Regions from separate parts of the Homo sapiens genome. Here all the other regions are linked to region 1. The links are contacts of gene promoters, found by promoter capture Hi-C in blood cells and fetal thymus (Javierre and others, 2016). All regions are on one chromosome and are shown on one strand. Each heading gives the region's core, a stretch centred on a gene start or on the middle of the fragment in contact. The rest is flanking DNA. Distances are from core to core; before and after follow the strand shown. Region 1 holds the start of GSG1L (GSG1 like). Region 2 overlaps ZKSCAN2 (zinc finger with KRAB and SCAN domains 2). Region 3 has its middle 12 kb from the start of ZKSCAN2. Region 4 overlaps HS3ST4 (heparan sulfate-glucosamine 3-sulfotransferase 4). Region 5 overlaps HS3ST4 (heparan sulfate-glucosamine 3-sulfotransferase 4). Region 6 overlaps AQP8 (aquaporin 8).

Region 1 (4,886 bases), core at 263-2,762:
AGTTTGGAGACCCTTGGCCATCCTTCGTGCCTGCTCTTACCAGGGACGTTGCCCACAACGTTTTCCTCTCACCTACCCCCCGGCAGATTAGCAGCAGCTGACAGTGGGTGCCGGCTCACCCACAGGAGTAAGGCAATTCATAATCGGTTAACCTTGAATTCTGCAAGGCCTGCCACTCGGCAAGCCGGGGGTTGTCGGAGCAGTTCTCAGCTTGGGCAGAATTCAAATGAGCTCTTATAATCAACATGCAATTAATTGTTGCACGCCCTGAGCATCTGGGCAGTAAGTGCTGTGCAGCGCGAAGGGAGTTCAGGGAGCGTGGTCATCTTAGAGCAGAGGTGGGGACGGGGTTGCACACAGTTTCCACGTTGCACAGGAGAGCCTGAAGAGGTTTGTCTGAGTTTGGTCAACTGATCTTGGTTCAGATGTCAGTAACAGTGAATTATTAATTGAGTCTACTGTGTGCCAAATGCTTTTTGCAGCCATGATCTCATTACAGCAGCCCACTGTGATATACCTTGAAGGGGGGGGGGTCCTCCCTTTTTTATAGTTATGGAAATTGAGGCTCAGAGAGGGTAAGTGACCTGTTCAAAGCCACACAGCTGGTCAAGCCCTAGATATGCTTGATCCCAAAGTCAGTATGTTTGGCCACCCTGCCCCCACCCGAATCTTGAAGATTCTACCCACATTCACATGGTGTGCATGTGAGCAGGGTTGGCAGCCCCTGTAGGGCACCACTGCCTGGTAGCTGCAATAACTTTGTGGCCGGCATGGGCCCTCCTAGGGTTCTGCTGTTTGGGATCTCAGGTGGGTGCAGTGGGCTGTCTGGGGTACCCTGTTGCCACTCTTCCTGCAGTTGCATGCCATGGTTGGGAGCCCAGATGACAGTTTCATCCTTGGAGGGGAGCTCTTCCCAGATGCTGGAGGTGACACCCAGGAGACAGAAAAACGTTTCAAACCCTATAACCCAATACTCCAGGAGGGGCGCCTCCTGACAGATTCTGCCACTCCAAGTCCAGCATGGGTTGTCTTATCCAGGGGGTCTTGCAGCTCCCTGGCTGTGGGAAGCCCTGCAGGCTCTGCTGTTTAGAACCTTTGGAAAAACTCCTTTCTCAGGGTCTGGTGCGGGGGTCCTTTTGGGGATCCCCTTCTGGGACAGGGTCCTGCTGGTCCGTGTCCCTCTTGGGGAGCCCCAGCAGGCTCTGCCCTTGTCTCCTGGGGCAGGGCCTCTCTGGGTCTCATGAGATGCCCGCTCCCGGCGGGTTTTGTTGCCCCACGTCCGCCGTGGGGATCTTTTCTCAGGAGCGCCTTGCCTGGGATTCTCCTTGCGTCTCAGACCCTCACCCTGGCTCGGATTTCTTTCGGGGGCGTCCCTCCACTCCCAGGCCCCCGCCCGCGCCCGGCGTGGCGGCCCCCTCTCCCCGTGCGGGCGGGCTCCGGAACAGTGTCGCCGGCCGCCTGCAGGTGTCTCCCCACGGAGGGGCGCGCGTCCCTGCGCCGTGGCCGCTGCCAGGCGCCAGCGGCTCCTAGCCGAGGTGCACTCGCGCTCCGGGCTCCGGGCGCGCCGTAGCCGCTCCTCCACCGCCGCCCGCCCCGCCAGCCCGCCCCGCACGCCCCCCGCGCCGCGCCCCCACCCCGGGGTTGGGGGGGGCATGGGCCCGCGCCGCGTCCGCCGCCGCCGATCTCAGGCACCCGAGCCCCGGGGCGCGGCGGGCAGCGGCCGCTGACGCGGGGCGCCAGCTGCCAACTTCGCGCGCGGAGCTCCCCGGCGGTGCAGTCCCGTCCCGGCGGCGCGGGCGGCATGAAGACTAGCCGCCGCGGCCGAGCGCTCCTGGCCGTGGCCCTGAACCTGCTGGCGCTGCTGTTCGCCACCACCGCTTTCCTCACCACGCACTGGTGCCAGGGCACGCAGCGGGTCCCCAAGCCGGGCTGCGGCCAGGGCGGGCGCGCCAACTGCCCCAACTCGGGCGCCAACGCCACGGCCAACGGCACCGCCGCCCCCGCCGCCGCCGCCGCCGCCGCCACCGCCTCGGGGAACGGCCCCCCTGGCGGCGCGCTCTACAGCTGGGAGACCGGCGACGACCGCTTCCTCTTCAGGAATTTCCACACCGGCATCTGGTACTCGTGCGAGGAGGAGCTCAGCGGGCTTGGTGAGTGCGCGCGGGCGGCGGCCAGCTCGGCTCCGGCTCCCCCGGGGCGGCGCGGCCATCGAGGCCCGAGCCCCGGACCCGTTCGCCCTCCTCCCGCCGCCTGGGCCCAGCTCCCAGCGCTCCGCCTGGCTAGGGGCGACGTTCCGGGGCAGGGGGCGCGCGCCGTTCCGGGGCCGGGGACCAGCATGGGGGGACGTGCGGGACGCCCCGCCGTGGAGAGGTGCAAGGCAGAGCTCCTACCCGCTGCGGACGCCCCGCGGCTTTGGGGACGCTCCCGCGCCCCGGGAAGGCGCCCACCCCCGCTGCCGGTCGGAGGGGCGCGCGCTGCTTTCCGCTCCTGAACTCATCTCCACGCTCGCCCCCTCCTCCTCTTCCTTTCGCGGGGCACTAGATGCCCCCACCCACCCCGGAACGCCCCTGGGGGTGGGGGTGATGCAGGGACTCCTGCTACCAGCCGCCCCTCCTGCCGCAGATCCACAGACCCGGGAGCCTTCCACCCCCATCGCCAACCCACGCCGAACCTCCCAGACGGGAGTGGGGAGTGGGGGAGTCCCGCGGGCTCCCGGAAAGCCGCACCCGCCCAGAGGCACCCCTATTGCCAGACGCCAGGGAGCCCTCTGTATCCTGGCCCCCTCCTGGGAGAGGCAGGCTAGGGAACTGGGGACAGCTGGGCAAACTCCGGGTCGAGGAGTCCAGGAGGGCTTAGCTTAGCACAAGGCTCCTATTAGGTTCGGTGGGGGACTGACTTTTCAGAAGGCAGATCAGACTGTCCCCTTTGCCTGGACCCCCTCCTCTACCCTCCAGAGGCAGCCTGGGCTGGAGTGCGTGTTTTGGAGGCAGACAGCCGGGCTGTGGCAGGGCCCAGGGGACAGCTGCCGGACAGCTGGTTGTGCCACACAGCAGGTAGAGCTGGCCCGAAAGACGTGGTATCTCTGAGCGGGTGTCCAGGCATGGACACCCTCCTGAGTGAATTGACCTCTTTCTCCAAGGTTAAAACTCCTCCCTGCATGCCTAGCTCCTCAGTGTGGACACCACACATATGTGTGTGCTCAAGGGTGGGTTACAGCAGACCTCCACCCTTAGTTTGCCCTAAATAAGCCAGTGGCCTAAGTGGTTTAGAGGGCAGAGGGAGGAAGCTGTGAAGCGAACCCAGTGAAAAGCTCCAGGCCTCTGCACAGGCTGCATCCTCTGTCTGGAATGCCCTTCCCCGCCCCACCTCCTTCTTCAGGGGCTCCTTTCACTGGGACTCTCCCACCTGCCTTCCATGTCAGGATACTGAGGAGGGACAACCTTGTGAGCTCCCCGTTGGAGGGAGGGTCTCCATCTTTGGATCTCACCACTGCGTTTATCTCCCTGCCACACTTGGCACTCCCTGACATTTTCTGGGGCCTGTTTTTGGTCACTAGCTTATAGTCCCCACTCCCCATAGGATGTCACTCTGTGAGGGCCAGCCCGGTTGGTCTTGTTCACTGCTGCCTCCCAGTAATGTCTAGCGCATAGTAGGTCTTCAATAAACATTTGCCGGGTGCATACTGGATGGGGTTGGGATGATGAACCGGAGGCTTCCTGCGGTGCTGCCTCCTCTGTCTCTCTTCTGGGGGTGGCTGACCAAACTTTTCTGTGACTTGAGCCAGGCTGGCCGTTTGTCAGAGATACATGGTGTTTGAATATGGACCTGCCCCTGATTGGTTTCATCCCATCAGACCCACTTCTGGTTTACACTCAACACTCAAATGTTTACTGTGGGATGCAATTAAAATTATTAACTTCAAAAGGCATCTTGGCCAAAATTCCCTGCCTTCCGCACAGCCCAACCCTAATCTCTCACACGGAGGCCTCGTAACACCTTGTTGTCAGGAACATCTTCGTCCTTGGAGGTAGACATCTTGCTACTGTACATCTTTCTCCAAGTTCAAGAAGGTGTTTCCAAGGCTCAGGAGACCCAGCCCTGGGGAGATACCACCTCTGCCTCCCTTCCTCTGTGCACACACCTGAAAATACAATGAGGCATCTCTGGCACCGGAGTGGTCCTGTCTCTACCTCTGTGGAGTGTCCTGGTCCAAGCTGCTCAGCTGAGCCTCTTAATTGTTTGGAGTCTCTGTTGGCTGCTCCCTGAAGGTCACGGTCCCAGTACTTGCTACAATTATTTCCCTGTAGTTCTTTCAGGGCTTGACTTGGGATATTTAAGTATTTTAAAAAATTATTAATTGAAAATTATTTAAAAAACAATGTTGGCTAACATTTATTGAGCCTTTAACGTTCACCAGGTCCTGCTGAAACTTCTCATCTCCTGAATCTTGTTGAATCCTGGCCGCCACCTTTGAGGCAGACACTTCTAGGGTACTTGCTTTTTCAGATGAGGAACTTAGGCTCACAGGGGATTCTGGCAAGGGAGCTGGAATTACCTTCTCGGGAACAGAAAGAAATCAGAGTGAAGGGATCGCGGAAGAGAATAGTACAGTTGAGGGGTCAGGGAAGTTGGCATTTTGGGGGACTCAGTTAAGACCCTCACTCCCAAAACTCAGTTAGAAATGCGGATGGTTAGTTTGTTGCATAAATAAAAGAAACCCCCAGTTTCCTCTTGGCCACTGTGGGCTGGAGATCATCCCTCCCCCAAAATCACAATTTTCCTCTCTGAGAGCTTGGAAAATAGTTATCAGCTTGTCAGTGCTGGTGAGAAATTTGGGAATCGGAGCCAGCTGGGGTGGTTTCTGCAGCTGATCCTACAGTGCCAAA
Region 2 (4,844 bases), core at 1,335-3,834, 2.8 Mb after region 1:
ATAGGGTTGTTATTAGTGTTAAATAGGATAATATAAATGAAGGCACTGTGAAAATGCTAAAATATAATACAGCATTGCCTGGTATCACTGTTATTAGTAATGTTTCTTTACTCCAGCTAGAGATAAATTCTTTTTTTTTTTTTTTTCCGAGACGGTGTCTCACTCTGTCACCCAGGCTGGAGTGCAGTGGCGCAATCTCGGCTCACTGCAACCTCCTCCTCCTGGGTGAGTTCAAGCAATTCTCCTGCCTCAGCCTCCTAAGTAGCTGGGATTACAGGCACCCACCACCACGCCTGGCTAATTTTTATATTTTTAGTAGAGACAGGGTTTCACCATGTTGGTCAGGCTGGTCTCAAACTCCCAACCTCAAATGATCCACCCACCTCGGCCTCCCAAAGTGCTGGGATTACAGGCATGAGCCACCGCACCCAGCCTATAAATTCTTACATAGAATGGAAAACTAAATCAGGCTAGGGAATGTATCCATGACTAAACCCATTCAAAAGAAATATCTGGCTGGATGTGGTGGTTCATACCTGTAATTCTAGCACTTTAGGAGACTGAGATGGGAGGATCCCTTGAGGCCAGGAGTTTGAGAGCAGCTGGGCAACACAGCGAGACTCCGTCTTTACAAAAAATAAAACAATTAGCCAGGCATGGTGGCACACTCCTGTAGTCCCAGCTACTCAGGAGGCTGAAGCGAGAGGGTCGCTTGAGCCCTGGAGTTCAAGGCTTCAGTGAGCCATGATTGTGCCACTGCAGTCCAGCCTGGGCAACAGACTGAGATTCTGTCTCAAAAAATAAAAAATAAACATCTGCTAAGATGGGAAGATGCATTATGCCTAGACAGGTCTCACCAATCTGAAAATCCATCAACATGAGGCTGGGACTCTTGGGGTGGTCTCAAATATGGGAATCCAGTCATAGGCCTGGAAGAAACCACCTAGTAAGATAGAGGATAGAGATTTTTCCTACAATAGATTACAAAACATACAAAAAGCATGTTTTACAAATTATATTTAGATATGCCCTGAAAAGTTTTATTCTGCTATAAATGCAGAACATAGTCTTGTCTTACAGATCATTTCATCTCAAAGTAGAGGATTCAATGACATCCAAAAACTACTCTGAACATAGTTCTGCTCCTCAAGGAAGACTGCTTACAGAAGTGGTAGGAAATTTGAGGGGGAAAGTTCCTATTGGAAATTCTAGTCATTATTCTTAACCACTTTGGAAAGAGACTTCTAGAGAACTAAATCATTTAGTTAATCACCATAGCAATGGCAGATTTGGGGGACTGCATTTTTATTCTTCCAAATAAGCTTTGAGATTAGTTTACCGATTTCAGTTTTAAAAATCTGAATGGGATTTTGACTATAGATTCATATGAGAAATGATATCTGTACACCTTGAGTCTTCCTATTCATAAACAGTGTCTTGTCATTTTTTCTAGTTTTATGATATTACACATTTTGATATAGACCTTCTCATTTCTTGCAAAGCTTATTCCTAGGCATATGTAGTTCTTGTTGCCACTGTGAATGGGATTTTTTTTTACCTCTACATTTCTTAATGTATATAGTATAGAGGCTAGAGACTCCTTTTCTTTGTTACATTGTGAACTTTATCCCCAAATGGCAGGCGTGCACTGGGGCTATGAAGAAACCAAGACTTTTCTTGATATCCTCCGTGAGACTCGGTTTTATGAAGCGCTTCAAGCCTGTCATCGGAAGAGCAAATTGTATGGGGCTGTAGCTGAACAGCTTCGAGAGTGCGGCTTCCTCCGGACACCAGAACAGTGCCGAACCAAGTTCAAAAGCCTTCAGAAGAGTTACCGCAAGGTGAAAAATGGCCACGTGCTAGAGTCCTGCGCGTTCTACAAGGAGATGGATGCCCTGATTAACTCTCGGGCATCTGCTCCTTCCCCCAGCACCCCAGAGGAAGTCCCATCACCTTCAAGGCAAGAAAGAGGGGGTATTGAGGTTGAACCCCAGGAACCTACAGGCTGGGAACCTGAAGAGACCTCACAGGAGGCAGTAATAGAAGACTCTTGCAGTGAGAGAATGAGCGAGGAGGAAATTGTGCAAGAGCCAGAGTTCCAGGGACCTCCAGGTCTACTGCAGAGCCCAAATGGTAAGGTGCAAAACCAAGGAGTTTTAGTCCAAAAGAGGAATAAGTGTGATTTACTGAAAAATGAGTAGATCTTGCACATAGCTCATGAATATTCCTTCATTCAAGAAATATTTGAGTGCCTGTGCTACTTGAAGAACAGGGGATATAGCAGTGATGTTCTTGGCATGGTGGCTCACACCTGTAACCCTAGCAGTTTGGGAGGTTGAGGCGGGTGGATCACCTGGGGTCAGGAGTTCAAGACCAGCCTGGCCAACATGGCGAAACCCTGTCTCTACTGAAAATACAAAAATTAGCTGGGTGTGGTGGCGGGCACCTGTAATCCCAGCTACTCAGGAGGCTGAGGCAGGAGAATCACTTGAAACCTGGGAGGCGCAGGTTGCAGTGAGCCGAGATCGTGCCATTGCACTCCAGCCTGGGTGATAGAGTGAGACTCCATCTGAAAAAAACAAAGTTCCTGTTCTCATGGTGCTTCTATTCAAAGGAGGAACTCACGTTAGAGTGACTCAGTCCTTGGGTTCTCAGCCTTGGTTTTTGTTGGTATGGGTCAGACAGTGTTTTGTATCTCCTGGAAGTACCGTGGGGAAGAAAAACTTGGAATTACACATGAGAAAAAACTTGGATGAAGAAAGTGTTTCAGTAAGCACAAAAGAAGAATATCTTATGGTTATATGGGGTGTGCAAGACAAAAAAGATAGGCAGAGACTAAATAAAAGACTTTATTCTGGTCCTGAGCTCCACCTGCATGTTTCCCACTGACTTACGCCCTCGTGGGCCTGTCACTAGTAACTCAGGCTTAAGATGTTCAAAACTAACTTCACCATCTTCCTTACCACACCACGGCTCTTCCCTGTGGGCTCCCGCCCTCATCCAGACTATCACGTCTATCTGTCCCCTCTTCAGTTACCATTAGCCACTGTCTAGTTCAGTCTTCTCTCTCTCTTGCCTAGACTGTTGTAAAAGCCTCCAAACCAGTTTTCTCCACCCACACTTTTATTAAGGTTTCACAGCCATTTTTGATCTGAGCTCATCTTACTCTTCTAGTCTACATGTCAGCATTTTCCTTCCTCAACTCTGCTTATTCAGAGCGGAACTACTGGCTATTTCCTACATGCACCTCAAGCTCTTTCACATCCAAACTTTAGCTTGCGATGTTCCCTCCACCTTGAATGTCCTTGGCTCTACATATCTCCATGTCCAAATTCTCTCTCACCTCCCATACTTTGTCTGTCTCTGTCTTATGGCACTGAACACTTTGTATGTAAGATCTCCCAGACATGGTGAGCTCCTGAAGGACAGGAGCTCCGTCTTCCCATAACACTAGATTAAGCCCTCGGCAATCAGTTGAATATGCAGGGTAATTCAGGACTAGTTTATTGAAGCAAGTGACTCTAGCTTAGTATATATATGGGAAATTATAGTATGAAGGCTTGAATTAAGTCCTGTAGAACCCTGGCTTTGATAACTGGAAACAAAGTCCTTGTGAATCTTGTTTTTAAAGTGAGCTCCAAACCTATCATCAAATTATCAAGCTTTCTCTGAGCCAACTCCTAGGTTGTGACTTCCTCCAAATCGCAGAACAATGTTGAACTCAATCAGAAAACTTCAAAAGAAGTACTGACAGGCCAGGTGTGGTGGCCCACACCTGTAATCCTAACACTTTGGGAGGCCAAGGTGGGAGGATCGCTTGAGCACAGGAGTTTGAGACTAGCCTGGGCAACATACACCCCATCTCTACAAAAAATAAAAAATTAGCTGGGAGTGGTGGTGTGCACCTGTAATCCCAGCAACTTCTGGGGTTGAGGTGGGAGGATCACTTGATCCTGGGAGGTCAAGGCTGCAGTGAGCTATGATCATGCCACTGCACTCCAGCCTGGGTGACCAAAAAAGTACTAATAAGTGAAAGATGGAATTGTTAGGGCTTTTTACTTAAGTGTCTAGATTGATTGATGGCTGCCCTCCTCTCCCCATCCCATGCCACAGCCTCCACACTTGGGATTGAGAGTTATCTGTGGTTTCTACTGAATGTGTGGAAGGAAAGTAATGTTGAAACTGGCAGTAGAAACAAGGCAGGAGAGCAGATGCTTAAGAACAAGGATTAACCTGAATTGGGCCTAAGTTGCACAGCTTGTGAAATGTTTATGGATGAAATAACGTGATGTCTGGAATTGGCTTCAAAGTAGTCTGGATGGAGGGAGCAGGGAGTATGTGGGCGTGGAAATGAAATGAGATTGGCCATGAATAGGTCATAGTTAAATGTAGGTAAGTGGTTTGTGGGAGTTCATTATACATACTGTTCTCCAGACTTTTCTGTGTTTGAATTTTCCATAAGTTAATACAAAAATCACACAGTTAATAACTCACCAAGATGGGACCAGACTCAGAGCCGTGTAATTCCAAAACTTGTCTCTGTTCACCATGTCATGCTCTCTGTCCAGAAAACTTAACAGAAAATCTGGATCCAAGATGTAGTGAACGTGGGATGTAGGTGAAAAGAGTGAGAAAATAATCCAATTTGGGTAACAGTGAGAATTAAGATTTCATTTAGTGTGGTTTATGGGACAGCCTGAAAAACAAAGTGAGAAGAACATTTGAAAAGAAACAGGTACCCTTGGGTGGGATATGATTAGATATGTAGAGGAATTTAGTTCCTGAAGTCCCTCGAGGAACTTGGACTTAGTCAGAATCTAATCTAGAGATCAGTGTGGTGTAGT
Region 3 (4,341 bases), core at 1,379-3,878, 2.8 Mb after region 1:
CAAGTAGCTGGGATTATAGGTGTGCACCACCACACCCAATTAATTTTTGTATTTTTAGTAGACACAGGGTTTTGCCATGTTGGCCAGGCTGGACTCGAACTCCTGATCTCAAGTGATCTGCCTGCCTCAGCCTCGCAAAGTGCTGGGATTACAAGCATGAGCCACCGAACCCGGCCTACACTTTTAAACCATCAGATCTCATGAGAACTCACTCACTATCACAAGAACAGCTTTGGGGCTGGGCGTGGTGGCTCACACCTGTAATCCCATCACTTTGGGAGGCTAAGGCAGGTGGATCACCTAAGGTCAGGCGTTCGAGACCAGCCTGGCCAACATGGTGAAACCCCGTCTCTACTAAAAATACAAAAAAAATTAGGCAGGTGTGGTCGTGGACACCTGTAATCCCAGCTACTTGGGAGGCTGAGGCAGAATAATTGCTTGAACCCAGGAGGTGGAGGTTGCAATGAGCTGAGCTCGTGCCACTGCACTCCAGCCTGGGCAACAAGAGTAAAACTGTCTCAAAAAACAAAAACAGCTTTGGGAAAACTGCCCCCACGATCCAATTACCTCCCAAGTCCCTCCCTCAACATGTGGGGATTGCAGTTTGAGATGAGATTTGGGTGGGGACACAGAGCCAAACCATACCAACTAGCATTGAATTTGTTTTCAATTATTGATGAAGAACATCTCATGTATAAAACAGACTGGCACTGTTTCCTCTCCTCACTCCTTTCAGTACATCCATCCTCGTGTTGCTGCTTTCTCTTGTGGTCACTGAAACTCCTGAGCAGTAAGAGTCCTGACAGCACAGAAACTGACCAATCAGAATGGACACTGGACTTATCGCTGGAGCAGGATTGAGACGTTAACGTTTTGATCACTGGATCCGGAAGAGTGTGGCTCCCAAGGGAGGGCAGCAGTGGGGAGCCACTCAGAGGGTTCAAGAAAGCAGCTGTTTTCCAACTGATATGGAAATAGCTTAATATTTTAACAAGTGTTACAGTAATGCCAGTGTCTGCCTGTGCCTTGATCTAAATAATAATTGAAAATACCTACTATTTATTGAGAATTATGTGGCAGATACTGTGATACATACTGAATAAACATTATTTCATTCCATTTGGTCATTGTTGAAAACATTTCCTTTTTTTTTTAGACAGGGTCTCACTCTGCCACCTAGGCTGGAGTGCAGTGGTGCAATCAGCTCACTGTAGCCTCAAACTCCTGGTCTCAAGCAATCTTCCCATCTCAGCCTCTTGTGTAGCTAGGACTACAGACATGCCCCACCACACCTGGGTAATTTTTTTTTTTGGGGGGTGGGGGGGCACTGACAGGGTCTCACTATGTTGCCCAGGCTGGTCTTGAACTCATGGCTTTGCCTCAGCCTCCCAAAGTTCTGGGATTACAGACATAAACCACCATGTCCAGCCAGGTCTGAGCATCTATTACATGTCTCTACTCAAGGATTGCTTCTTACGCGTTGGGAAGAAAAGGAAGAAGCTAGCAGGCAGTCTGCAGTCCACACCGGGCTGCCCCCACCAGCTGTTGTGTGCCTGGCAGCGCTTTCAGCCCCATTCATTTCCAACTCCAAGGGGTTTGTCACTTTGCCGGTTGTTGCCACATTTCCATCCTGAAGTGGCAGCTCCAGTTGTGTTTCCCAGATAATTTCCAAGATGCTAATTGCCACCTGCTGATTTCCTGTAAACACTGTACTGTACACATGTGATTAATCAGAGAGCTGTGGACTGTTCCAAGGAAGTGTGTGTGCATGTGTGTGTGTGCGTTTCATTACGGTGGTGGATTTAAATCACAGGCAATGTTTGCTCACAAAGCTGCATTAGCAGAACGGCAGGGAAAACAAAATTATAAAATACCATAAACTGCAAGTTCACAGACTGTATACACAACAACTCAAGTCAGCCCAATAATTCCCTGACTAAATTCTGGAAGTGAGCAGCAGGAAGGTAGCATCTCTAAAGGAGACTTTGAACCATTTCTTCTTCAGATTCAAGATCAACCTTGTGCCAGACCTTAGCTTTTCACTGCAAGTTACCTGCACCTTTAAAACTCCAACTCCTCATCTGTAAAAATGGATAATAATTTCTGAGTCACAGAAGATAACATGTAATATGTTTATTTTGTATATCAGTCAGAACTGTGTGGGTTGCAAGTGACAGAAATTGAATTCAAAGTGGCTTAAGCAAAGCAAAGGAATATATTGGCTCAAAAACCTAGAGACAGGGGTCTAGTTTCAGGTGCAGTTGCATCTAGGAGCTCAAATAATGACTTCAAACTCTGTGGCACCCTCTGCTTTTTTATCTTGCCTCATTCTTGGAAGACTCTCCTTACAGCAACCTAGTAGACTAACAACAGGTCCAGGCATATATTTTATCTTCTCAGCAACCATGGTAAACTAGTGTAGATAGCATCACACTTGGGAAATGACCCACTAGTGTAAGAGTTAAAGAGCAAAGAAACATGAAAAGCAGCTTAACATTCAAAGTCAGTTTCTTTTGGAGAATAAACCTGAGGGGTTTCTGACCAGTTTTGATCGGGGGCACTCTCTCTTACAGACTAAAGATGTTTAAGGATATAGGAAGTGGGGAGCTTATCGTAGGTTCGCAATGTTTCGATGTGAGGGAAAGTTTATCATGGGGTTGGAAAGTCTCTGGTTGGAGGTGAAGCTATCTTGGGGTCGGCATGTTTCTGGTTGGAGTGGCGTTTATCTTAGGGTTGGAATGTTTCTGGTTATGCTAACATTAGCCATTAGGCTGATGTTTGGGGGCTGGATTTAGGCAGGTTTTTTTTAATCAAGGGGAATTTAAAATGGTGGGGTTTGTCCAAGATAGCAATGCTCCTGCTCTGTCCACTAGCCCATTCTCAGACCTCCTGATTTGGGTAGTTAATTGCCTACTTGCTTACACCTACCCAAACTCCCAAGACATGCACAGAATCAGCCACATACATGAAGACACTGCCAGACCTCTGACCCCCAAACCAAACCAGATGGCTGGAGGGACAGCCTGGCACCATCTGACAGTGTTCATAAGAGAAAAAAATCGGGGATTCCAACATCAGGATATGGATTTCACGAATGATACTCAACCTCCCATACGAACTCATGTGCTGAGCGACAAGAGGGAGAAGTTTACTTAACTTGGAAATAACCGGTCAGCCCCTTTTACACATGCTTGTTTCAGTCCTGGGCCAACAGTGGAAAATGGGCAGTTCACAGACTCAAATCCAGGCACATCTGGCCAAGGTCGCTATTTGCCATTTTCTGTTTCTAAGCCACTCCAAGTCTCTATGGCTTTTTTTTTTTTTTTTTTTTTTTTTGATGGAATCTTGCTCTGTTGCCCAGGCTGGAGTGCAATGGCGCGATTTCAGCTCACTGCAACCTCCGCCTCCTGGGTTCAAGCGATTCTGCTGCCTCAGCCTCCCGAGTAGCTGGGATTACAGGCAAGCACCGCCACATCCAGCTAATTTTTGTATTTTTCATAGAGACGAGGTTTCATCATGTTGGCCAGGCTGGTTTCAAACTCCTGACCTCAGGTGATCCACTCGCCTCGGCCTCCCAAAGTGCTGGGATTACACGCATGAGCCACTGCACCTGGCCTCTATAGCATTTCTTATAGGAAATACTCATAGAATCCCAGCCTGAGATTCTGGTCTTGAAGTATAGAACCCATGGCTCTACCTAATCACACAGCCCCTTTATCCCATCCTATTGGGGCAAGATCCTATCCCCTAACCCCTTCATTTCCATTGTTCCTCCTCTTCAACTTCTTTCCTAGCGGGAAGAAGATAATTAGTATAATACATGAAAGTTATCCTATGAGAGTTGACCAATATTAGCCATAGAGGTTTCATGGTCTTTGGGTACCCTGCTCTGAAAAATGCGAGAACTCGGGGAAAATGGGTCTTATCAAGACAGATAAAAAGGAGCAGGTGCAGATAAAGGCTGGAGCCCTTGTTAGAAAATAATAGAGGGATGGAAATCAAGATAAAGGGAATTTCCTTGTGTCTACAAAAGGCAAACTCAGCCTGACAGGTAATGCACAGAACAAAGAGATGCTGGCAGCAGCCTCTACATTCTCAATCTATTCCTGACTAGCAATGATGAGCATTAAGTCCTTTCTGATAATTAAATGAGCTTATTTGCCTTCTTTTTCAGTCATTGTAAGTTAAAATAACAGGGTTAGATGCAGCATAAAGTAATGGTTAAAAGCACAAACTCTGGAGTCAGGTCACGTGAATTTGAATCCAGGATCCTCTACTCAGCAGCTAGAAGAACTCGGGCATGTTACTTCCCTTTGCTTTAATTTTCTTGTTAGTAAATGG
Region 4 (4,796 bases), core at 202-2,701, 2.2 Mb after region 1:
CAAATTAAAAATAAAAATAAATAAATAATTTTTTAAAATAGTGTATTTTACACCATGTAATATTATGCAGTCATAAAAAAGAATGAGCTCATGTCCTTTGCAGGGACATGGATGAAACTGGAAGCCATCATCCTCAGCAAACTAACACAGGAGCAGAAAACCAAACACTGCATGTTCTCACGTGTAAGTGGGAGTTGAACAATGAGAACACACAGACACAGGGAAGGGAACATCACACACCGGGGCCTGTTGCAGGGTCGGGGCAAGGGGAGGGAGAGCATTAGGACAAATAACTAATGCATTCAGTGTTCAAAACCTAGATGATGGGTTGATGGGTGCAGCAAACCACCACGGTACATGTATACCTACGTAACAAACCTGCACATTCTGCACATGTATGCTGGAACTTAAAGTAAAATTAAAAAATAAAAATGAAATAGTGTATTTTAAATACTCTTGGCTTCTCTCTACCCATGTGCCTACTCTGCCCTGATAGAAATGAAGTGATTTTCCTGATTGTCACATTTAGGGCAAAATGTCTTTTCTCCTCTAGGCAGCAAGCTGCCCAAAGGATGTAGGGTTTCTCCTCTGCTCCTTCATACAGTAAATTCTTATTCTAGGCAAGTCTCCATGAAGGGAGGCTTCTCCCAATCAAGTGTTATCTGTCTGTGCCTAAGTAGGTAACAACCTTAATGTTCATGTGGGAATTCAGCCAAGAGACACACTTGTTGCACACTAAGCCGTATTCCCCATTTGCCCTTGGTCAGTAATAAAGATAACGTGATTGCCTCTGTCTGTCACTTCTTGGTCTTTATTTAGAACTCAGGCAGAAGAGAGGAATGCTATTTATTGCTCAACCCAAGCTGCCTTGAAGACCCCAACAGGCACTTTCACGTGCATTAAATTCTCACATGAACCTTATAGTGTTCTTCATATGATCCACCATAAAGATGGGAAAACTAATGCTCAAGTAAGTTTAATCACTTGTCCAAGTTCACAAAACTGACTAGTAAAAAAGCTTCTCTAGCTAGAGGCCATTACCCTAAGCAAACTAACACAAGAACAGAAATGCAAATAGCACATGTTCTCACTTATAAGTAGGAGCTGAACCTCAAGTATGTTTGCACATGGACACCTGGGCCTACTGGAGGGCAGAGGGTAGGAAGAGGGTAAGCATCAAAAAACTACTTATCGGGGGCCAGGCACAGTAGCTGACACCGATAATCCCAGCACTTTGGGAGCCTGAGGTGGGTGGATTGCTTGAGCCCAGGAGATCGAGTCTGGCCTGGCCAACAAGATGAAACCCCATCTCTACTAAAAATACAAAAACTAGCTGACTGTGGTGGCGGGTGCCTGTAGTCCCAGCCACTTGGCAGGCTGAGGCAGGAGAATTGCTTGAACCCAGGAGGCGGAGGTTGCAGTGAGCTGAGATCATGACACTGCACTCCAGGCTGAATGACAGAGCAAGACGCTGGAAAGAGAGAGAGAAAGGGAGAAAGAGAGAGAGAGAGAGAGAGAGAGAGAGAGAGAGAGAGGGAAAGAAAGAAAGAAAGAAAGAAAGAAAGAAAGAAAGAAAGAAAGAAAGAAAGAAAGAGAAAGAAAGAAAGAAAGAAAGGAAAGAAAGCAAGCAAGAAAGAAAGAAAAGAAAGAAAGAGAAAGAGAGAGAGAAAGGAAGGAAAGGAAAGGAAGAAGGGAGGGAGGGAGGGAGGGAAGGGCTGCTTATGAGGTACTATGCTTTTTATCTAGGTGAAAAAATAATTTGTACACCAAATCTGTACATCCTGCAGCACACAATTTACCTCTATCAGAAATCTACTCATGTGCCCCTGACCCTAAAATAGAAGTTAAAAAAAAAGAAACCTCCTCTCCTCATAAAGAAGCTTTCCTCACTTAGTATCTTCTGAATCTGAAACTTGGTTTCAACACGAGCTCTGCTGATTGCTAGCTCCGTAGCTTGTGACAAGCTTCCTCATCTGTTAACATGGAGGATAATTTCACAGAAGCATCTTGTGAATATTAAATGAGCTAAAATTCACAAATCAATCTGGCACATAGTAGGCCAGATTGACTCTTGAAAGAAATTTCTACAAATTAGGAAACTTTAAAACTTTACCATTTTAAAGTTTAAACTTTAAAATTATCTAATGTAAGGGAGAAACGAGAATATGCTAAATGTAGCATCCTTGGTGGTTTTTATTCTAAGAACCTCTTTTTGGGACTTTATGTCCAAATGATTACTTCAGTAAATAACTGATTTCCGCTAAGATAGAAACCAAAAGCTTGTTGTTGTTTTTTTTTTTTTTGTGAAGACAGCATTATTCTGTTTATTACATTGACAATTAACAGTAAGTTTTGAAAGACAGGAAAGTCTTCAAAGGAATTTGGGGAACTGTATTCTGACTTGTCAGTGAATGCTGTGGCCTTCCCTGTCCCACCTAAATGACATCTGCCTGGGTCATAGACACCTGCAGGTGTCGATCAGGGTATGGATGGCAGTCACTCTCTGCTTATTGCTTGAACGAAGGAATTGCAAACTCTGACACTATTATGGAGCTGATCCCTTACTGGCTCGGACAAGGAGAAAGCCAGTTTGTAGGACCGTGTGGCTTTCTATGCAACTGACACACAGAAAGACCAAATGGCTCCAAGAAAGAGTCTGAGAGCAGCTACGTTGGATCTCAATGGCTTTCTGATTATTGGTCCTAGTGTCTCGTCCCTGCTGGGTTTTCAATTTCTGGTTCTAGCCTCTTGAGAAGTCTGGCTCTATTTCTTATTAACTTCCATTTTCTATCTTTGAGTCCATATAATAAAGTGCCCTTCCTTTTCTTTTTTATTTTTTTCTGTAGCCTAGTTTGAATGATCCTCTGTTACTTGCAAACAAAGGCACACCGAGGACTGCAGCTTTTCACTGAGGTTGGAGGTAATACTGAGGATCATCACTGTCTTGAAAATGGCACATTCTGGAAGACTTGAAAAGGGCAAGCATGTCTGATTTATAAAGAGATAAACCCACTCATGGAAATTATATACCATGAAAGCTATTAAAATCACCCGGGAAATTACTAAAATAATCATGCCTCCCTTCAGCCACAGGCTCCTATCCCTCCAACTTGACGATTCAACTGCTTCCTTTGTTGACCTCACCAAGACATTTTGTCACTGGTTCCTAGACTATCTTCCTTTTTTTTATAGTGCCCTAGCCCCACCCCACTCCTCACATGTTCATTTCCCTTGCTAGGTGCATTTGGTCCATGGTTCTTATTTTTGCAATTTCCTTGATAATATCCTTGATTTCCTTGATATCCTTGATTTCCTCAATAATATCCTTGCCACCCAACCCCTTCCCCATTTCACTAGACCCACCAGGGGGAAATTCCAGGCCTCTATGAGCCATGTCCTCCCTTTATCTGCATGCAATGGACTGAATTGTGTCTCTCCACCAAAAAGAAAAATTATGTGTTTAAGTTAACCTCCAGTACCTCAGAACGTGACTGTAGTTGGAGACACTCCAAATATGGGTGCAAGTTTATGAGGAACAGACACCTACAAGAGGCACCTGCACCCATACTTGAAGCTATGCTGCTCTGAAGCCTGAAGGAGTTCTTGAGGTCCAGAAGGAAATTCTGTAGCAGAAAAAAGGCCATTTCTACAAGATGCACGTGGCCAGCAGGGGCAGGAGATCATCTTTCTGAGCTCCATAATGAGCAAGTTCTAGGAAAAAACAAGCCATCTGGAGAATAAGTTCACCTCAAGTTTGTCATATTGGATGAGATCCTAAGACTCAGCAAAGACACTATAGAGCTCTTGTGGGATGTGCCCAAGCTGAATGATGAAATATCCCAGGAAAACACATACCTACACAGGGGGATCCTAAGATTCTAAGACCCTAGAGACTTTAAAGGGCAAAGAATTTCTGGTGGGACACCAGGACACCACCTGTCACAACTATTCCATGAGTGATCTACTCTTCAGCGGTTCATCTAAAACATCAAAGTATGGGCCTCATTTACCAACTCCAGTGACAGAATACACTAGAAGAAATGCTAGTATGATGATGAAGCTTTGCATCCAGAGACCAAATCCTAGAGTGGCTCTGCAGATGATATCATCATTATCTGGGACATCCAGAGCCTGAATAAGGTGAACACAGTTAGCACATATGGCAGTCTTACGTTCACACAGGTCTCTGCACACAATGCTGTTGAGTGGGTTCCAAAAGACCAAAAATTCTGGAATATTATGAATACCAATGTGGAGCTAAAGGAGTTGAACAGCCTCCAGCAGTAAGCTCAGGACCCAGTGGTGCCCCACAGCAGCATGAACAGTGGCTCCTACAAGACCATCAAGATCTGAAACACCCAGACCCTCAACTGCTTGCATGTCCTGCAGACGTCCAGCTGCAAGATCTACACCATCACCATCACAAACCATTGCACCATCTATGCAACTAGGGGAACCCCAGTATGTTAGCTTCCTAAGTTTGCCATAGCAAAGTACCACAATCTGCTGACTGATAACAACAGCAATTAATTCTCTCACAGTTCTGGAGCTGAGAAGTACAAAATCAAGGCGTAAGCAGAGTCATACTCTGAAGGTTTCACGAGAGGATCCTTACTTGCCTCTTCCTAACTTCCGGTGGTTGCTGAAATCCTTGACATTCTTTGACTTGTAGATGCATCAGTGCAATCTCGGCTTCTGTTGTCACATGGGATTCAATCCGTTTGTCTCTTTTGTCTTGATGTCTTCACAAAGAATTCTTCTCTCAGTGTGTCTGTGTCCAAATTTCCCTCTTCTTG
Region 5 (4,871 bases), core at 2,216-4,715, 2.2 Mb after region 1:
GAGGCGGAGGTTGCAGTGAGCCAAGATCACACCATTGCACTCCAGCCTGGGCAACAAAAGCAAAACTCCGTCTCAAAAAAAAAAAAAAAGGCATCTAGGCATCTATATTTTCATTATACGACATAAAACAAAACAAAGTAATCCAAAAAGATTGAAAAGAGAATAAAATTAAATTAAATTAGCAACATAAGTATCAGAAAAAAATAGAATTAAGGTGACAGATGTCATAAGAGACAGAGGAGAATATTTTATTAATAAAACATGTGATAGATTAAGGAGCTCTAAGTGAGGCACGGTGGCTCACACCTGTAGTTCCAGCACATTGGGAGGCCAAGGCAGGCAAATTGCTTGAGCCCAGGAGTTCAAGACCAGCCTGGGCAACATGGTGAGACCCCGTCTCTACAAAAACATACGTAATATTAGCTGGATGTGGCAGCACACACCTGTAATGCCAGCTACCCTAGAGGCTGAGGTGCAAAGACGGGAGGATGGCTTGAGCCTGGGAGGTGGAGGCTGCAGTGAGCCATGACTGCCTAGGTGACTAGCCTAGGTGATAGACCGAGCCCCTGTCTGAAAAATAAAAATAAGTAAGAAAAAGAAGCGCTAAAGAAAGTTATGAAAAGTTATTCATCAAATAACAGGACTTCAAAATAAATATACCAAAACGATTCAGAATTTCAAAGAAAAAGTGACACATTTCTTGCTCAGAGATTCACCAATCAAAAGAAGGATTTTAATGATGACAGTTAACAAGTCTGATTAGACACAGATATGTTCATGTATACACGTACATGTATATACATAAATACGTCTGCATGTATATGTATATTTGTACCCAGAAAATATACATCCTTTAAAAATATATTTATCAACAATTTCAGTCTTTATTAGGCCATAAACAGAATCTCAATAAATTTCAAAAAGAAGTCAAAAATGTTAAAGCTACATAGAAGAATTAACACAGTAAATGTAGACATTATTAACAAACAGATGGCCAAGAACCAAAAATAAGTAACACCACCACAAAACCATCTATTTGGAAATTTAAAACAGTTTTTTAAATAACTCATGGATTAAATAGAAATTCAAAACCGAAATTACAACCTGTTTAGAAACGAACAACTGGAACCCTACATATCTAAATTATGGAATGTAGCAGTACTTGGATGAAAATTTACAACTTTAAATGTATTAGAAAACAAGGAAGACTGAAAATAAATGAACTAAACATTCAACTCAGGAAGCTGGAAAAGGAACCATGAAAACCATAATAAAAAAACTGAAGAAAGTAAAACAAAAAAAAGAGAAGGAATAAAGATAAAAGCAGAAATAAATGAAACAGAAAACAAAAGAAAAATAGGAATTTGCAGCAATGAAACTAAAAGCTAGCTCTGTAAAAAGAGCAATAAAATAAACAAACTTCTGTAAGACCTGGCAAGAAATAAAGAGAGCACAAATAACAATCTTCAGAATGATGAAGAGGGCATAACTACAAATGTGGGAGAGGTTTATACTAGATATAAATTTACATCAATAAATCTGAACATCTAGATTAAATGGATCATTATTAAGGATTTTTAAATTACCAAAGTAAACTCAAAAAGGGCTTAGAAAAAGCAAAAAAAAAAAATTATTTTTTCGTTTAAAATTAGGCTGGGCACAGCGGTTCACTCCTATAATCCCAGCACTTTGGGAGGCTGAGGCGGACGGATCATTTGATGTCAGGAGTTTGAGACCAGCCTGGCCAACATGGTGAAACCCCATCTCTACTAAAGATACAAAAAATTAGCCGGACGTGGTGGCACACGCCTGTAATCCCAGCTACTCAGGAGGCTGAGGCAGGAGAATTGCTTGAACTCGGGAGGCAGAGGTTGCAGTGAGCCTTGATCGTGCCACTGCACTCCAGCCTAGGCAGCAGAGCAAGACTCTGTCTCAAAAAATAAAAAAAAAAAGTTAGCAAATACCTAACCCTCCCAAATCACCAGACCCATATAGTTTTATGGATGAGTTCTACTGACATTCTCACAATATGTAATCTGTACTTCACTGTGATTATTTTAGAACACTGAAAAAGAAAGTTGTTGAAATCATTCTCAAAGACAAACATAAAACTGATACAAAAACCAAATTGTATTTTACCAGCAGTAAAGACCCTCAAAAGAATAATTTAAATACATAAATATAAATACCAAAAATTGTAACAAATAGATAAGTAATTTTAATTTAGCAATGTCTTAACCAAATGAAACGACAGAACCAAATAGGATTTTCTCAGGAATGATATAATGATCCATCATTAGGATTTCTGAAATTAGCCACCTTCTTTTTTAAAAGAGGACAAACCCTATATGTTCACCTTAATAAATGTTTAAAATCTTGACAAAGAGCTACCTGAATTCCCAGGAAGAGTTCACAGCAATCTAGAAACAGATTTTATTTTAACTGATAAAGAGTATTAGCAAAAATCTACTACAACTATATATTCAGGAGTGACACACTATAAGCATTTCAATTAAAATAAAGAATTAGATTAAAAAGTTGATTATCACGGTTAACATTCAACATTGTCTTAGATATTCTAGACATTGCACCAAGTCAAAAACAAACAAAACTGAAGGGAGTTAAATTGTAAAGAAAGTCACAAACTGTCACTATTTGCATGTGTTATCATTCTTGACCCAACAAAAACTACTAAACTCAACTTAATTTTTGAAATTAATAGCAAAATAATTTAAGGTGGCTGACTGCAGACAAAAATCAATAGTTCTCCTAAGCATTAATAACAATTTATATGGGGGGGATCCCAATTATGAACCAGGTACAATATAAAATATCTAGTTATAAACCTAACAAAAATGTATAGGATGGAAGAAAAACTACACACACTTACTAAAGTACATTTAACAATAAATAAGTTAAAAGACATGCCATGTTCCTTGACTGAAACATCATACATTAATCTACTGTCTCAATGTAATCCTGCTAAGAATTCCAATATGATGTTTTAAAGAAAGCTAATAAACTGCCTGTAAAATTTACCTGTAAATGTGAAAAAAAGAGTCAAAAAAAAAAAAAAACTCGTGTTGATGGGAGAGCAAAATAGGAAGTGTATGTGCTGTTTTAGACATTAGCATTAGACTATATAAGAAGCTGTAGTAATTAAAAGAATAGGATTCCAGTACAGAGATGAATGAGTGGAACACAACAGATAGTACCAAAACAGATCATGCAGTGCACATGCGGAAAACTTGACGACGGTATTGAGAAAACTTCATCTCCACTGTTGGGGGAATGAGAAGTATTTTCCCACATCAGACTGCATATAAAAATAAATTATAGATTGATTAAAAATATAGATATATATAATCAAAACTATGGCTATATTAGAAAATTTTTTTAATTTTCTGTTATAGAAAGAATGAACACTCAAATTATAAACAAATATAACAGAATTCACTGCCTTCAAGATGTAAATATCTGTGGGCTGAAAGATACTACAAACTTAAGATATTGATGGCAAACTGGGGAAAAAAAAATACAACTTTTTTTTTTTTTAAGAGATGGGGTCTCACATTGTTGCCCAGGCTGGAGTGTAGTGGTGTGATCATGGCTCACTGCAGCCTCGAACTCCTGGGCTCAAGAGATCCTCCCACCTTAGCCTCCTGCGTAGCTGGAACTATAGGTACCTGTCCCTGCACCCAGCTACATTTTTTATTTTTTGTAGAGACAGGGTCTTACTGTGTCGCCCAGGTTACAAAACACAATTTAACAAATAACACAAGGTATTAATACCAAAATTGCAGGAACTGCTGGTTAGTCAACTCAAAACTCCTCACCAATTTATTTTGACTTTTCCTACCTCCATTCTAGGCATAAACTTCCTTGCAGCTTCTGGGAATGCTTTAGCTTTCTGATAAAAAGGACAGATGCCACTGGCACTGCTACTTTACGATCAAGAGGAAAAAGCCAAGAAAGAGACCGCACTGCTGACAAGCCTGAGCTACAGAGCAAATGCCAACAGCCTCCTACCTCTAGGCTTCTCATTGTGGAAGAAAAATAAATCCTTATTTGTTTAAGTCACTGTTAATCCAGCTCTTTGTTCCTTGCAGGGGACAACTCCAAATACGAACAGTAACATAATAAGAGCAAAACAGGGACCCTAACACAAAGACAAACAACCCAATAGAAAAATGAGTAAAGGTCCGAATAGATAATGCAGAGAAAAAGAGGAACAAATAAATGTGCATTAAATTTATAAGAATAAACTTATTCGAAAGGACAAATAAAACAGTGAGATAGCATTTTTCAGCCTCCAGATTGGCAAAAATGAAGAGAGAGAATGAGAAAGACAAAGAGAATGAAAGAAAGAAATACAATATCCAGGCTTTGAGAGAGTAGGGAATTCTATTATTATTATTATTATTATTATTATTATTATTATTACATGCTATTCCTTGGATTCCTTGGCACAATCATTTTGAAAGTCAATTTTTCGGCACCAATTAATCAAAATTTTAAATGGGTCTTCTCTTTGACCCAGCATTTCCTCTTCTTAGATTCTTACATTTGTTGTTGTTGTTTTGAAATGAAGTCTCGCTCTGTCGCCCAGGCTGAAGTGCAGTGGCACGATCTCAGCTCACTGCAACCTCCACCTCCCAGGTTCAAGCGATTCTCCTGCCTCGGCCTCCAGAATAGCTGGGATTACAGGTGCTCATCACCATGCCCAGATAATTTTTGTATTTTTAGTAGATACAGGGTTTCACCATGTGGGCCAGGCTGGTCTTAAACTCCTGACCTCAGGCGATCTGCCAGACTCAGCCTCCCAAAGTGCTGAGATTACAGGCATGAATCCCCGTGCCCGGCCTACATTT
Region 6 (4,713 bases), core at 140-2,639, 2.8 Mb after region 1:
AAAGCTCCTAGATGGAGCCATTTTCTTTGCCTCTAAAGAGGCTCCCTCTTTTCTCTTCCAAACCCAAGTGAGAGCCTAGCCCTCTAGTCCCGGACTCTCTGGGAGATGTTGCCAAGTGCCCATCCAATGGGCCGGTGACCCTGTGTCACACTCCTACCTAATGAGCAGTCCAACAAGCAGGCCAGCCAGGAGTGGGCCCAGCCAGTAGATCCAGTGGAAGTTCCAGTGGTTGGCCACCACCGCAGGTCCAAAAGCACGGGCGGGATTCATGCAGCCTCCAGACACAGGGCCCCTGCAAACACCCAGGCACCAAGGTCACCAGGATCCCAGCCAAACCCCACCTCACCTCACACTCATGTCCCCAACTAGGCCTAGTCACACACCACCCAGAAACCCTCTCTAAACTCCTACATCATGAGCTCCTGGGTAGATCCTAAAGAAGGCAGAGGGGCTATTAGCACCAGGAAGCAGAAGGCATGGCTCCCCGCTGGGCGTGCAGTCCAGCACTCCCCACACACTCCTCTAGAATGCCCAGCAAAAATGCCTACTGGGTGATGGCAGGAAGAGAAGCTGGAGCTACATTTGCTCCAAAGTCTACAAAGGAAAGTCAATCAGTTTCAATCCTTTTGGAGTCAAGCTGACCTAGATTCAAAACCCAGCCCACACATTATAAAATAACAAAAAGTGTATCATAGGATTGTTCGTGACCCAAAGAATAAATGCTTGAGGGGATGAATACCCCGTTTACTTTGACGTGATTATTACACATTGCATACCTGTATCAAAACATCTCATGTAACCTCAGCCAGACACAGAGGCTCATGCCTGAAATCCCAGCAGTTTAGGAGGCCAAGGCAGGCAGATCACTTGAGGTCAGGAGTTAGAGACCAGCCTGGCCAACATGGTGAAACCCTGTCTGTATTAAAAATACAAAGTTAGCTGGGAATAGTGGCACACGCCTGTAGTCCCAGCTACTGGGGAGGCTAAGCCAGGAGAATTGCTTGAACCTGGGGGTTGGAAGTTGCAGTGAGCCATGATCATGCCACTGCACTCCAGCCTGGGTGACAGAGCAAGACTCTGTCTCAAAAACTAAAACTAAAAATAAAATAAAATAACGAAGAGTATAAGTGGATTGTTTGTGACACAAAAAATAAATGCTTGAGGGGATGAATACCCCATTCACCTTGATGTGATAATTATGCATTGCATGCCTGTACCAAAACATCTCATGTAACCCAGAAATATATACACCTACTAGGTTCACCCACAAAGCTTTAAAAATATACATATAAAGAAAGAAAAACCCCAGCCCAGATAGTTCTAGGTGTGGGAACCTCCATGAACCTCTCTGTGTTCAGGTGAGGTGAAAGTGACTATCCCATAGGTTGTCATCAGGAGTGAATGAGAAAATGCAAATGGAGCCCACACCTCGAATATAATTAATGTACAAAAAGCATTAACTAATCTAGCTGGTCCAGATGAGGCCCTTGTTGCACCACAAGCTTAAGACCCAGAATCCTACAGGGAGACTCTTCCCCAGGTGCACTCCTCTCGTTCTGGGGCTCTGTCTTTACCCCATTCTCTCCAGCTGGGGGCCTGTAGACCTCATCCCCACCCTGTGTCCAGCTTCGAAGTCAAAAAGCTTGTAAGTAGGCGGGGCGCGGTGGCTCAGCCTGTAATCCCAGCACTTTGGGAGGCCAAGGCGGGCGGATCATGAGATCAGGAAATCGAGACCATCCTGCCTAATACGGTGAAACCCCGTCTCTACCAAAAATACAAAAAAAAATTAGCCGGGCGTGGTGGCGGACGCCTGTAGTCCCAGATACTCGTGAGGCTGAGGCAGGACAATGGCGTGAACCCGGGAAGCGGAGCTAAAAAAAAAAAAAAGGGCTTGTAAGTGAATCAAAGACCACTAGGGGGCAGCAAAGCATGGCCACAGCTTTACACACACATTCCCCAGCCTGCCCCAGGCTCCACCTCCCAAAGTTGAGGGAGAGCTGACCCAGGAGAAAGGTTAGACTTGGTTCTGTGTCCAAAAGAAAGGAAAGAGTCAGACATTAGGGAGGGGCTCCCTGGGCTGGGCACTGTGGCTCATGCCTGTAATTCCAGTACTTTTGAGAGGCCAACGCAGGAGGATGGCTTGAAGCCAGGAGTTCAAGACCAGCCTGGGCAACAGAGCGTGACCCCTATCTCTACAACAAAAATTAAAAGGGTTCACTCAGCCTCTTGTCCCAAATCTATCACTTAATTTGCCACTGCCCACTGACCTTAAATAAGTCACTTCTGTCCTCTCTAAGCCTCAGTTTCCTTATCTATAAAACGGGAGACATCATCCCCAATCTTGTCTACTTAATCCCTTCCAAAGCCTGCTGGGAGTCTAAAAATAAATGAGACAACAGCTACACATGCTCTTTGTAAGCCTGAGGCTAAAACCCGGCTGCCCGCTGACCGAATGAACACAGTTCACAGAAATGTTGTATTTACGCTACCAACATTGGAAAACATCACATACAGATTTAAATTTCTGACTTCCTTTGAATGAAAGCATCAGCCCAGACCCATGTACCCAGCAATAATTGACAAGAGCTGAACTGACTGCAGCACCTCTGACACTGCAGTCCCCACCACTCCCTGTTGTCTGCCTGATGCCAGCCCCCCTCCCCATTTGCAGCACCTTCCTGGCCCCTAATAGCAACTGAATCTGTGACCCTCAGGCCTGAAATCCCCCAGAGCTGAACAGCACAGATCTGGGCATGGTCACCCCACTGCCAAGGGACACTCACCCAGCCAGGATATCCACGGTGACGGCAAAGCCGATGGAGAACGGGGCCAGAGGGCCCTTTGTCTTCTCATTGATGGCACCCATGCATACAGCCAGGGCCAGCAGCGTCGTCAGGATGATCTCTGCCACCAACGCCCCTGCCACCTGCCCCTGCTCCTGGACTGTCACAAAGGCCGCCCCAGATGCATTCCAGAACCTCTCCTCAGGACTCACCGCCTGCACAGAGAAGCTGCTGAGCCTCACAGTGGGGCAGAGAGACAGCTGGAAACTGAGGGGAGAGGGCCTAAAAAACGCATGCTACCCACCTTAAGAGCCAGTGAAGGGTTATGTCCAATTTCAGTTAGATATACCTGCATCCACATCCCAGCTCTGCCAGATTTTACTGTGCGACCCTGCGTGAACTACTGAACCTTTCTGAGCCTCACTTTGTTCAGCTGAAAAATAGTAATGGGGCTAGGCGTGGTGGCTCACGCCAGCAACCCCAGCACTTTGGGAGGCTGAGATGGGTGGGTCACTAGAGCCCAGGAGTTTGAGACCAGCCTTGCCAACATGGTGAAACCCCATCTCCACTACAAATACAAAAATTAGCGGGGTGAAGTGGCAGGCACCTGTAATCCCAGCTGCTCAGGAGGCTGAGGCACCAGAATCACTTGAACTCTGGAAGCAGAGGTTGCAGTGAGCTGAGATCACACCACTGCACTCCAGCTTGAACAACAGAGCAAGACTCCGTCTCAAAAAAAAAAAAAAGAAAAAGAAAAAGAAAAATGGGGATAACCCAGTCATGGCTCCAGGTTACAGACCTAAAACTTATGTAACTTAGATGATCCTCTTTGAGAAAAAGAACATAAACTATCTTTTTATTTTTCTTTGACACAGAGTCTAGCTCTGTCACCCAGGCTGGAGTGCAGTGACACGATCATAGCTCACTGCAGCCTGGACCTCCTGGGCTCCAGTGTTCCTCCTACCTCAGCCTCTCATGTAGCTGGGACCACAGGTACATACCAACCATGCCCACCTAATGTTTTTTTTAAAATTTTTTGTAGAGATGGAAGGTCTTACTATGTTGCCCAGGCTGGTCTGGAACTCCTAGGCTCCAGTGATCCTCCCGCCTCTGCCTCCCAAAATGCTGGGATTACAGGCACCAGCCGCCATGCGTGGCTAAAAATACCTTACTCTTAGAAACTTTACAAACACATATGATCAGGTGAACTCATTGCTAAGCCCCCACAGGACCGTGGAAGGGGCATGTGCAGGAGAGCCCTGAAGCCTGAGCTCAATTATTTCTATGGGCGATCGGCCTCAGGGCTATCACAGCCCCGAAGGGGAAAGACAGTGCAGTGCACAAGCTTCTGGACTCTGGATCCAGTCGGGGCTGTGCTGCTTACAGGCACGTCTGAACTTGAGCAAGTTACCTGCTTCTCTGCACCTCTGTTTTCTCATCTATAAAATAGGGATGATACTGACAGCTCCCAGCTCACAGACAAGGCCGTTGGTGTGCCTGGCACAAGGTAAGCGCTCTCTATGAACTGACTATGGTTTTTCATAAAGTTGCTGGGAGATGAAATAAGAGAATATGTGTAAAACATTTAGCAGGAAGAATGTGCTTAGGGAACCCTGCTGCCCCGCAGCTGTCAGAACCATGTTTGACAGGTTTTAAGTGGCAGGGCTTGAGCTCGAGTCTGGCCACTGCTTTTCAGAGCAGAAGCCGAGAAGGAAGGTCCCGGGCGTGTTCCATAGACAGGGGAACAGGCTGTGGCTCTCAAATTGGGACATGGAGAGACCACAGCAGGGGATGACAGTAAAGTGAGGCTTGAGAACAAAGTCTGCGGTGGGTCAGCACTTACAGCTTCAGACCCTATCACAGCCAAGCTGACAGAGCTCCCCCATCCACCACCCCCCACACACACACCAAGCAAGGCCCACATCTTGAA

Evidence for each region. Contacts are between HindIII fragments. The CHiCAGO score rates a contact against its expected background, and 5 or more counts as called.
Region 2: a contact is called between a fragment that was not itself captured here and the fragment with the promoter of GSG1L in region 1, in 3 of 17 cell types (naive B cells, total B cells and activated CD4 T cells). The highest score is 11.0, in naive B cells.
Region 3: a fragment that was not itself captured here is called in contact with the fragment with the promoter of GSG1L in region 1 in 1 of 17 cell types (non-activated CD4 T cells); the score reaches 5.8 in non-activated CD4 T cells.
Region 4: a contact is called between a fragment that was not itself captured here and the fragment with the promoter of GSG1L in region 1, in 8 of 17 cell types (naive CD4 T cells, total CD4 T cells, naive B cells and 5 more). The highest score is 13.9, in naive CD4 T cells.
Region 5: a fragment that was not itself captured here is called in contact with the fragment with the promoter of GSG1L in region 1 in 8 of 17 cell types (non-activated CD4 T cells, total B cells, total CD4 T cells and 5 more); the score reaches 14.7 in non-activated CD4 T cells.
Region 6: a fragment that was not itself captured here is called in contact with the fragment with the promoter of GSG1L in region 1 in 1 of 17 cell types (non-activated CD4 T cells); the score reaches 6.5 in non-activated CD4 T cells.

Annotation. Positions count from the first base shown.
Region 1 is chr16:28,060,340-28,065,225 of GRCh38, reverse strand. It overlaps GSG1L (GSG1 like), which reads left to right and starts at 1,512. Exons shown (of 7, transcript NM_001109763.2): 1 at 1,512-2,150. The coding sequence starts at 1,802. The HindIII fragment of the contact is 8,058 bases long and covers 1-4,886 here.
Region 2 is chr16:25,241,074-25,245,917 of GRCh38, reverse strand. ZKSCAN2 (zinc finger with KRAB and SCAN domains 2) reads left to right here. Exons shown (of 7, transcript NM_001012981.5): 6 at 1,642-2,133. Among named protein-coding and RNA genes, the nearest start is that of ZKSCAN2-DT, 14 kb to the left of the region's middle. The HindIII fragment of the contact is 2,160 bases long and covers 1,505-3,664 here.
Region 3 is chr16:25,268,137-25,272,477 of GRCh38, reverse strand. No RefSeq gene overlaps it. Among named protein-coding and RNA genes, the nearest start is that of ZKSCAN2, 12 kb to the right of the region's middle. The HindIII fragment of the contact is 6,566 bases long and covers 1-4,341 here.
Region 4 is chr16:25,825,041-25,829,836 of GRCh38, reverse strand. The region is part of intron 1 of HS3ST4 (heparan sulfate-glucosamine 3-sulfotransferase 4); the gene reads right to left. It also overlaps the pseudogene LOC100420641. Among named protein-coding and RNA genes, the nearest start is that of HS3ST4, 140 kb to the right of the region's middle. The HindIII fragment of the contact is 862 bases long and covers 1,021-1,882 here.
Region 5 is chr16:25,845,220-25,850,090 of GRCh38, reverse strand. All of the region lies in intron 1 of HS3ST4 (heparan sulfate-glucosamine 3-sulfotransferase 4), which reads right to left. Among named protein-coding and RNA genes, the nearest start is that of HS3ST4, 160 kb to the right of the region's middle. The HindIII fragment of the contact is 8,837 bases long and covers 1-4,871 here.
Region 6 is chr16:25,222,647-25,227,359 of GRCh38, reverse strand. AQP8 (aquaporin 8) reads right to left here. Exons shown (of 6, transcript NM_001169.3): 4 at 2,784-2,998; 5 at 158-292. Among named protein-coding and RNA genes, the nearest start is that of AQP8, 8.1 kb to the right of the region's middle. The HindIII fragment of the contact is 230 bases long and covers 1,275-1,504 here.